Linked DNA regions of Homo sapiens: region 2 is linked to region 1. Evidence: promoter capture Hi-C in 16 types of primary human blood cells and fetal thymus (Javierre and others, 2016). All regions are on one chromosome and are shown on one strand. The core of a region is centred on a gene start or on the middle of the fragment in contact, and the rest is flanking DNA. Distances in the headings are between cores, read along the strand shown.

Evidence for each region. The method cuts DNA at HindIII sites, captures the fragments that hold promoters and counts their contacts. A CHiCAGO score of 5 or more calls a contact.
Region 2: a fragment that was not itself captured here is called in contact with the fragment with the promoter of ZCCHC24 in region 1 in 1 of 17 cell types (naive B cells); the score reaches 5.3 in naive B cells.

What each region holds. Positions count from the first base shown.
Region 1 is chr10:79,443,897-79,447,248 of GRCh38, reverse strand. ZCCHC24 (zinc finger CCHC-type containing 24) reads left to right here and starts at 1,625. Exons shown (of 4, transcript NM_153367.4): 1 at 1,625-2,054. The coding sequence starts at 1,809. LOC105378383 (a long non-coding RNA gene) reads right to left here and starts at 1,008. Exons shown (of 4, transcript XR_946104.4): 1 at 1-1,008. RefSeq lists silencers at 1,193-1,702, 1,713-1,772. The HindIII fragment of the contact is 21,833 bases long and covers 1-3,352 here.
Region 2 is chr10:78,038,942-78,042,075 of GRCh38, reverse strand. It overlaps RPS24 (ribosomal protein S24), which reads right to left. Exons shown (of 6, transcript NM_033022.4): 5 at 1,851-1,872; 6 at 1,379-1,461. The coding sequence ends at 1,870. Among named protein-coding and RNA genes, the nearest start is that of RPS24, 6.6 kb to the right of the region's middle. RefSeq lists enhancers at 726-775, 844-1,345, 1,666-2,175, 2,176-2,687. The HindIII fragment of the contact is 642 bases long and covers 1,199-1,840 here.

The sequences.
Region 1 (3,352 bases), core at 376-2,875:
ATGAAGACATGATTGATACATATGCTGTCGTTTGTATTAATAACTGCAAATTGATAGACAAGATGGAGATCTGAGATCCAAGGGCCTCTTGGTTGGTGAAAAAGGGTGGCATTTGGTCATCACTGAAGGCCTTCGTGGTGCGAGCGACCATAGATGTGGTTAGGTGCCCTGCAGGTGATGTGAGTAACTCGTGGAGTGGGTGGCGGGGAAGAGCTGTCCTTTATGGAATATCTTCCGCTTACCAAACCCAAGCTGGGAAGCACACAAATGTCCCCGGCGGCGGGAGGATGACTGCTCCCATTTTACAGAGGAGAAAACAGGCTTGCTCGCAGAGGTTAGGCGTCATGCAGAGGTCATTCCGCTGGACGGTGGCCAAGCTGGCACTCCAACGCTGGGCGGAATGGCTCCAGAGCCAGACTGAAAGTGGGAGAGGTGACTCGGTCCCAGCCAGGCGGTGAGTTCCTCTGGGCTAGGTCCCCGGTGCTGGCGCAGCAAAGACCACCCGGAGAAAGAGACGGTGAAGGCCCCGGGGCTTCCTGGGGCGTCAGGCGGAGGCGGAGGCGGGGGCGGGGCTCCCTCCAGGCAGTCTTGGACTAGCTGAGTTGTCCCAGCGAGATGGGTGACAGCCGCTTTCCCGAGCTCCCCCGGCCCAGGCTGGTGTCCTGGCGACTCGCCAAGGCACCGGGGCGGGCTAGGGCTGGAGCCGGGGTGGAGGAAGAGGGTCGAGAAGCGAGGCGGGCCCAGAGCAGAAATAGGAGAAGGGGGGGGGGAGGGGGCGGGGAGTCTTTCCTGGGGCAGGAACCCGGGCCCCCCTTGGCGCAGCCGGCCCGCAAAGTGATTCTGCAGATGGAAGGAATTAAGTAGGAGGGGGAGGGTCCGATGGTGATAGCGAGAGGAGGGAGTTAGAAGTGTGTGCGTCTGTGTACACGCGTCTGAGAGAGGAGCGGGAGAGACAGGGAGAAACATCAGACCAGACGGAAATAGAAGAAAGGAGACAAGAAGAGTGAGAGAAAGAGAAGGACATACACACACACACACACACACACACACACACGGAGGGCGCCACATACAAGGACGACGGACACAGGAGACTAGTACTAGTCTAAGAGAGAGAGAAAGAAGGAGTATGAGAAAGGAGGGAAAATAGGAAAGGAAAAGTGAGTGAAAAACAATTGCAGAGGATTTGGAAAGAACGAGACAAGAGCGCTGACGACAGAGGGAGACGAAATTGATTAGGCCGGGGCTGCACTGAGCTCCCGGCAGCTCGGGGAGCTGGGTTGGCCGGGCTGGGACGAGGTGGGGCTTGGGCGGGGCCTCGCATGGGCGGGCCCGCGCCGTGCTGCATATGCAGATGAGCCTCACTCCCCTCTCTCCCCACCCCTGACGGTTCATATTCAACGAGACAGCCAATGCAGGGCGAGGACAGTGCCAGGCGGGGCAGGGAGTGGGCGGCGGGGCATCGTGGACCCCACCCCCGGAGCCGCCGCTGGAGGGGTCAGCCGCGAGGCAGATAGCGGATCGCCGGGCGGGGCGGGACGCAGTGGGCGGGGCGGAGGGGCGGGGCCAAAAGTTTCCTGCCCAACTTTCGCTGCCTCCTTCCACCGCCTGCGCGCGCCGGGGCCGCAGTCGGGGGGAGGCGGCGGCAGCGGCAGCGGCTGCGGGCAGCGCGCGGGGCGCAGGGCGCGGGGCGATCACCGTCGGGGCTCGGGAGGCGGGCAGTGGGCACAGGCTCCCCGGTGCCCGCCCCTCCGCTGCGGAGGGGGGCCGCGAGCGGGCGGCCGGGGAGGGGCCGGCACCGCCGCCACAAAATGAGCCTGCTGTCGGCCATCGACACGAGCGCCGCCTCGGTGTACCAGCCCGCCCAGCTGCTCAACTGGGTCTACCTGTCGCTGCAGGACACGCACCAGGCTAGCGCCTTCGATGCCTTCCGGCCCGAGCCGACCGCCGGCGCCGCACCCCCGGAGCTGGCCTTCGGCAAGGGCCGCCCCGAGCAGCTGGGCTCGCCCCTGCACTCCAGCTATCTCAACAGCTTCTTCCAGCTGCAGCGCGGAGAGGTGGGTGCCCCCGCGCGCCCCCGCCCACCGCCCCACCGCCCCACCGCCCCACCGTGGCGGGCCGTTCCCTGTCTGACCCGCTCTTCCTGGCCTGGCGCGGCCCGGCTCCGCATTGCCGGGCCCGGCTTGGCTTGGCTTCGTTCAACTCTGCCAAACTCGCCGCCCGAAGTCCCCGGGGTGCCGGGTGCGCGTCACCTCCCGGCTGAGCCCGGGCTGGAGCAATGCAGGCCGGGGCGGAGCTCTCCCGCCCCCTCTCCCTGCCAGGGCAGCCCTGCTCCAAAGGGGTTGGGGGAGGGAGTTGAGGAGGGGTTGTCTCCGGATTTTCTTCAGACAGCTGGGGTGCGGCCTGGGCGGGGAGCCCCTTCGAAGTGTCCTTCTCACGCCCAACCTTATCCTCGTCCTGGCCACCGCGGGCTGGGACCGAGAGTGCAGATTCTGCTCGGAGCTCCTCTGGAAGGGCCTAAAATCTTTTCTCCGACCTCTGCGGTTCCCGACCCGAAAGGCACCCTGGAGAGCAGTGACTGCCCAGAGGGCTTCTCCTGCTGTTCTCACTCGGGGACCCCAGATACGTCCTCCAGCTGCTCGCCCTCCCCCAGCCACATAGGAAGTGGTTTCTGAGGGCTTGACCCCACAGACTGCGCTGTCCCCAGCCCTCCCAGCCTCGAAGGAAATGAAAGGGAAATCCTCTTGAGCTCTTGGGAGGGGGGCTAGAAAGGGGGGGGGAGAGGTTCCAGCTGCCCAGCGCCTTCTGCAGAAACCTGGGCCGGCTGTGTTGCAAAGTCTGCCTGTTTGGTGGATTCAGTTACAAAGTTGACTGGGCAGCGCCTCTTTGCCAGCAAGATAAATACACAGATCGCCACCACCTCCCAGCCCTTTTTGAAGAGTCTCCAGGGCCTGCCCAGATACCACTCCTTTCCGTGGGCTGGACTCCTCCCCTCCCTCCATTTACTCCTGCCTCATTTGGGAATTTCAGACACCCATCTGTGGCCTTCACTTCCTCCCCTTGTGGGGGTTTTCTCTGCAAAGATGCAAGAGGTGTGTTCGGGGGAGGACACACATGGGGGTCACTTTCCTTCCAGACCTGGGCACACCGGTGAGTTTTAGGAGAGTCAGAGTCCTGAATGGGTTGGGGAGGAAAGCCTATGTACGCAAGGGTGTGCTGGGGGTAAGAGAGGGAGGCAGAGGGTCGCCCTTGAGTTCAACTCTGCCATTATTTACTAGGGGAGGCATGGACATATAAAATGCTGGCCCAAGGCCAACACTACCCAGGCTGACCTGTTGACCTGGGTGGGTAGAAC
Region 2 (3,134 bases), core at 270-2,769, 1.4 Mb after region 1:
TATGCCTAACAAGGCTCACAGCAAGACTGCCACATTTTCTATAATATCACAACCCAAGTGGATCCTCTGGAAAAATAGGCCAAGCCTGAGTTTCATCCCACCTCCCTTCCCAAGGCTACTGGCTGAAAGACTACAACTTCTGCCCTGAGCACAGCTGAACAGAAAAGCCTCCCCACTTCGTGACTTTGATGCCAACCTTCAATCATTCAGGCTCTCTGCAGCTATGCCCTTTTTCTTCACATCAGAAACTATTTCCTACCCTTCAGTTCTCAATTGCTTCCTTCCACTCTCCCTGCATCAACTTAGCAACCACCCCCAGCTCCACGTCCTGTCCCATCCCATCCCATCCCATCCCTGCAGCACTGTCAGGATCCTCACCACCTTGCCTCTGCAAGCTGCTCACAGGGTGCCTTCTCTGCTTCCACACTCCAGCTCAGTCACAGGAAACTGCATCTCAAACCCCAACCTTTGCTGCCCCTAGCATTACCTTCAGCCTGGTATGCACTGTTCATCAAAAAATGTCAAATCACATCAAAGACCCCATTCTTCCACACGTTCTGTACTAGTAAGCCATTTCCTGGTCCTAGCAAAGTAGTAGCAGATTCCTTAGCAAGAGAACCTACAGGGCCAGAGGCCCCACAAACCGAAGTACACAGCCTCTGTAGATATGAAAACAGAACTCCAACCACCCCCTGGCCAGCAGGCCCAGCCCCATGACTTAACTCTTCTCAGCCCTGCCCTCCTGTCTGTAGGTGCTCCATGCAGGGGCTGTGACCATCTTTTCTCCAAAACATTCCACTACCCTTCCTTCCTGCAACCTCAACCCTTCTGCCTTCACGGTATTGCTTTTCCTGAGTCCCCTTCATGCCCAACCAAGTCTTTCAGCTCTCTACTGCTTCCTGAGATTTCTCCAGTTTATCCAGACATGGTACTTTTTAGACTCTAAGCCAGACGTGGTCGCTCATGCCAGTACTTTATGTGGCCAAGGTAGGAGGATCGCTTGAGCCCGAGTTCAATCAAGACCAGCCTAGGTAACAAAGCTAGACCCTGTCTCGAAAAAAAAAACACCTCACTGTAGCCTCGAGCTCCTGGGCTTAAGTGTAATCATCCCACCCAAACCTCCCAAAAGTGCTGATGACTGTGAGCCACTACACTGCGTCCACCGCGGACATGGTTCTTAACACAGCATTTACAAGCTTGACTCCCAGATGAACCCACCTAAGCTATAAACCAAGCAGCAAACAAACACCACCCCATGACATTAAGTTTTCACTGAATGCTTCATGGAGCATGTGAACTTGGACAGCAACTGAAATCAGCAGACTAACCTCCTAGCAGTCCCAGGAAACTGCAAATACATTTCAAACAACCAGACACATGAAGTTTTTAGTTTATTAATGTTCTTGCGAAAAATCCACAGTGGCCACAGCTAACATCATTGCAGCACCTTTACTCCTTCGGCTGTGAATCAAGAGAAAGAAGTTTAGTCAACAACTGCCTTTAAAATTCTTTAAAGTCTTCAATTCCAAAAGTAGTAACACTCATGCACAACAATTATTAGTAACCTAGAATATCAAGTTATTTTGATGTTATCATAACACAATGAAAGCATCAAGAAATAAAATTTACAAACATTCAAGTTAAGAATAAAACAAAAATAATGGGCTAAATATTGCTAAACCTTAAAAACAAAACCATGTCACTGTTAGTATTTTAAAAGGTTACAACTCTTCAGAATATTTGTAAATCTACTTCTAGATGTACTACACATGATCTGCTTTTAAATTGCTACGTCAGTACACCAAGGAGTCTAGTGATCTACATGACTACATGAAAAGCTTGAATTATACCTGTGATCCAATCTCCAGCTCACTGAATCAGTGGCGGGGAAGGGAAAAAGAGAAAGGAGGGAAAAGAAAGATTTCATTAATAGTCCCTTTTCAAACTCCAAAATAATCTGCATTTAAGTGCATGCAATCAGGTACCTTAAAGATGACCATTTTGTTCTTTGCAATTGTATACAGAGCACTCCTTCCAGACTCACTGATTTTATTCCTCCCAATTCTGACAATGCCTTGCCTGATTACTGTAGTTCTTATGCAAACGAGGTAGCCGGACTTCACAATGAAGAGATCATTAAGCCAATGTGGTACCCAGGATGGCCTTGCCCACTTGTCAATGAAGTACATACCTGAGCCTCTGCCCCTCTGCTCTGCCCAGCAACATTGTGCTGGACACACACCAGGAACAGTTACGAGAATCATTACAGATTCAAGTCTAATTTAACCTCAATGGGAGTGCTCTAAATGATCAGGCAAGTCTTTTAAAAGCTGCCTCAGTTCAATAAAAGATACCATTCACAGCCACAAAAGTAGTACAAGTTAGTATTTAAAAAGAGGCATTAATTTAGCTGAACTAAAAATACAATTGCTCCTCAGATATGAGACTACTAATGCCTTAGTATAAGTAACTTAGTATATAACTCCATCGCAACCAAAAAGCAAGAACAAATACCAATTCTAACATCTAAACAAAACTGAATTAAAAGCAATATTGCTATGGCATTTCTTTGGAGCCAAAGAATTTATGTACTCAAATGCATTGATTTTTCCAGCTGGCTTTTCAGAGCAGTGCTAGTGAGAGGCACCAGTGTAACTTGAAGCAGGAATAGTGATGGCTCAGGTCCCCACAGGTAGCTCCTCCATACCTGTGGGACTCAAAGGCTAAGGGCACTAACTCATAGGGCTCAAAGGCTGGATGAAGAGAACAATCAATGTGTTAAATGTCCTTCAGACCTAGGTCAGAGGACAAATTTTGACTAATTCTTTTGACTAATTCTTTTTGCAACTTCTCTCAACAGGTACAATCCTCACAAACAGGGAGTAGTTCTTAGTGAGTAGTTCTGCTGGCAGTTCATTCATTACATACTCCATGGCGCTGGGACATCAATGTGATTACAGTCCTGGGCAGGCAATCCCAGGTTTACTGCCTTGCCTGGCAGGGAATCACTGCAAAAGGATGCCACAAGAACAAGGGCCTTCATTGATTCAAAATCCCACTACGCCCACCCCACTCCTACCCCACTTATCACATTACAATTTTAGGCTGTTCAGATGTGCAAAATTTGTTTTAAA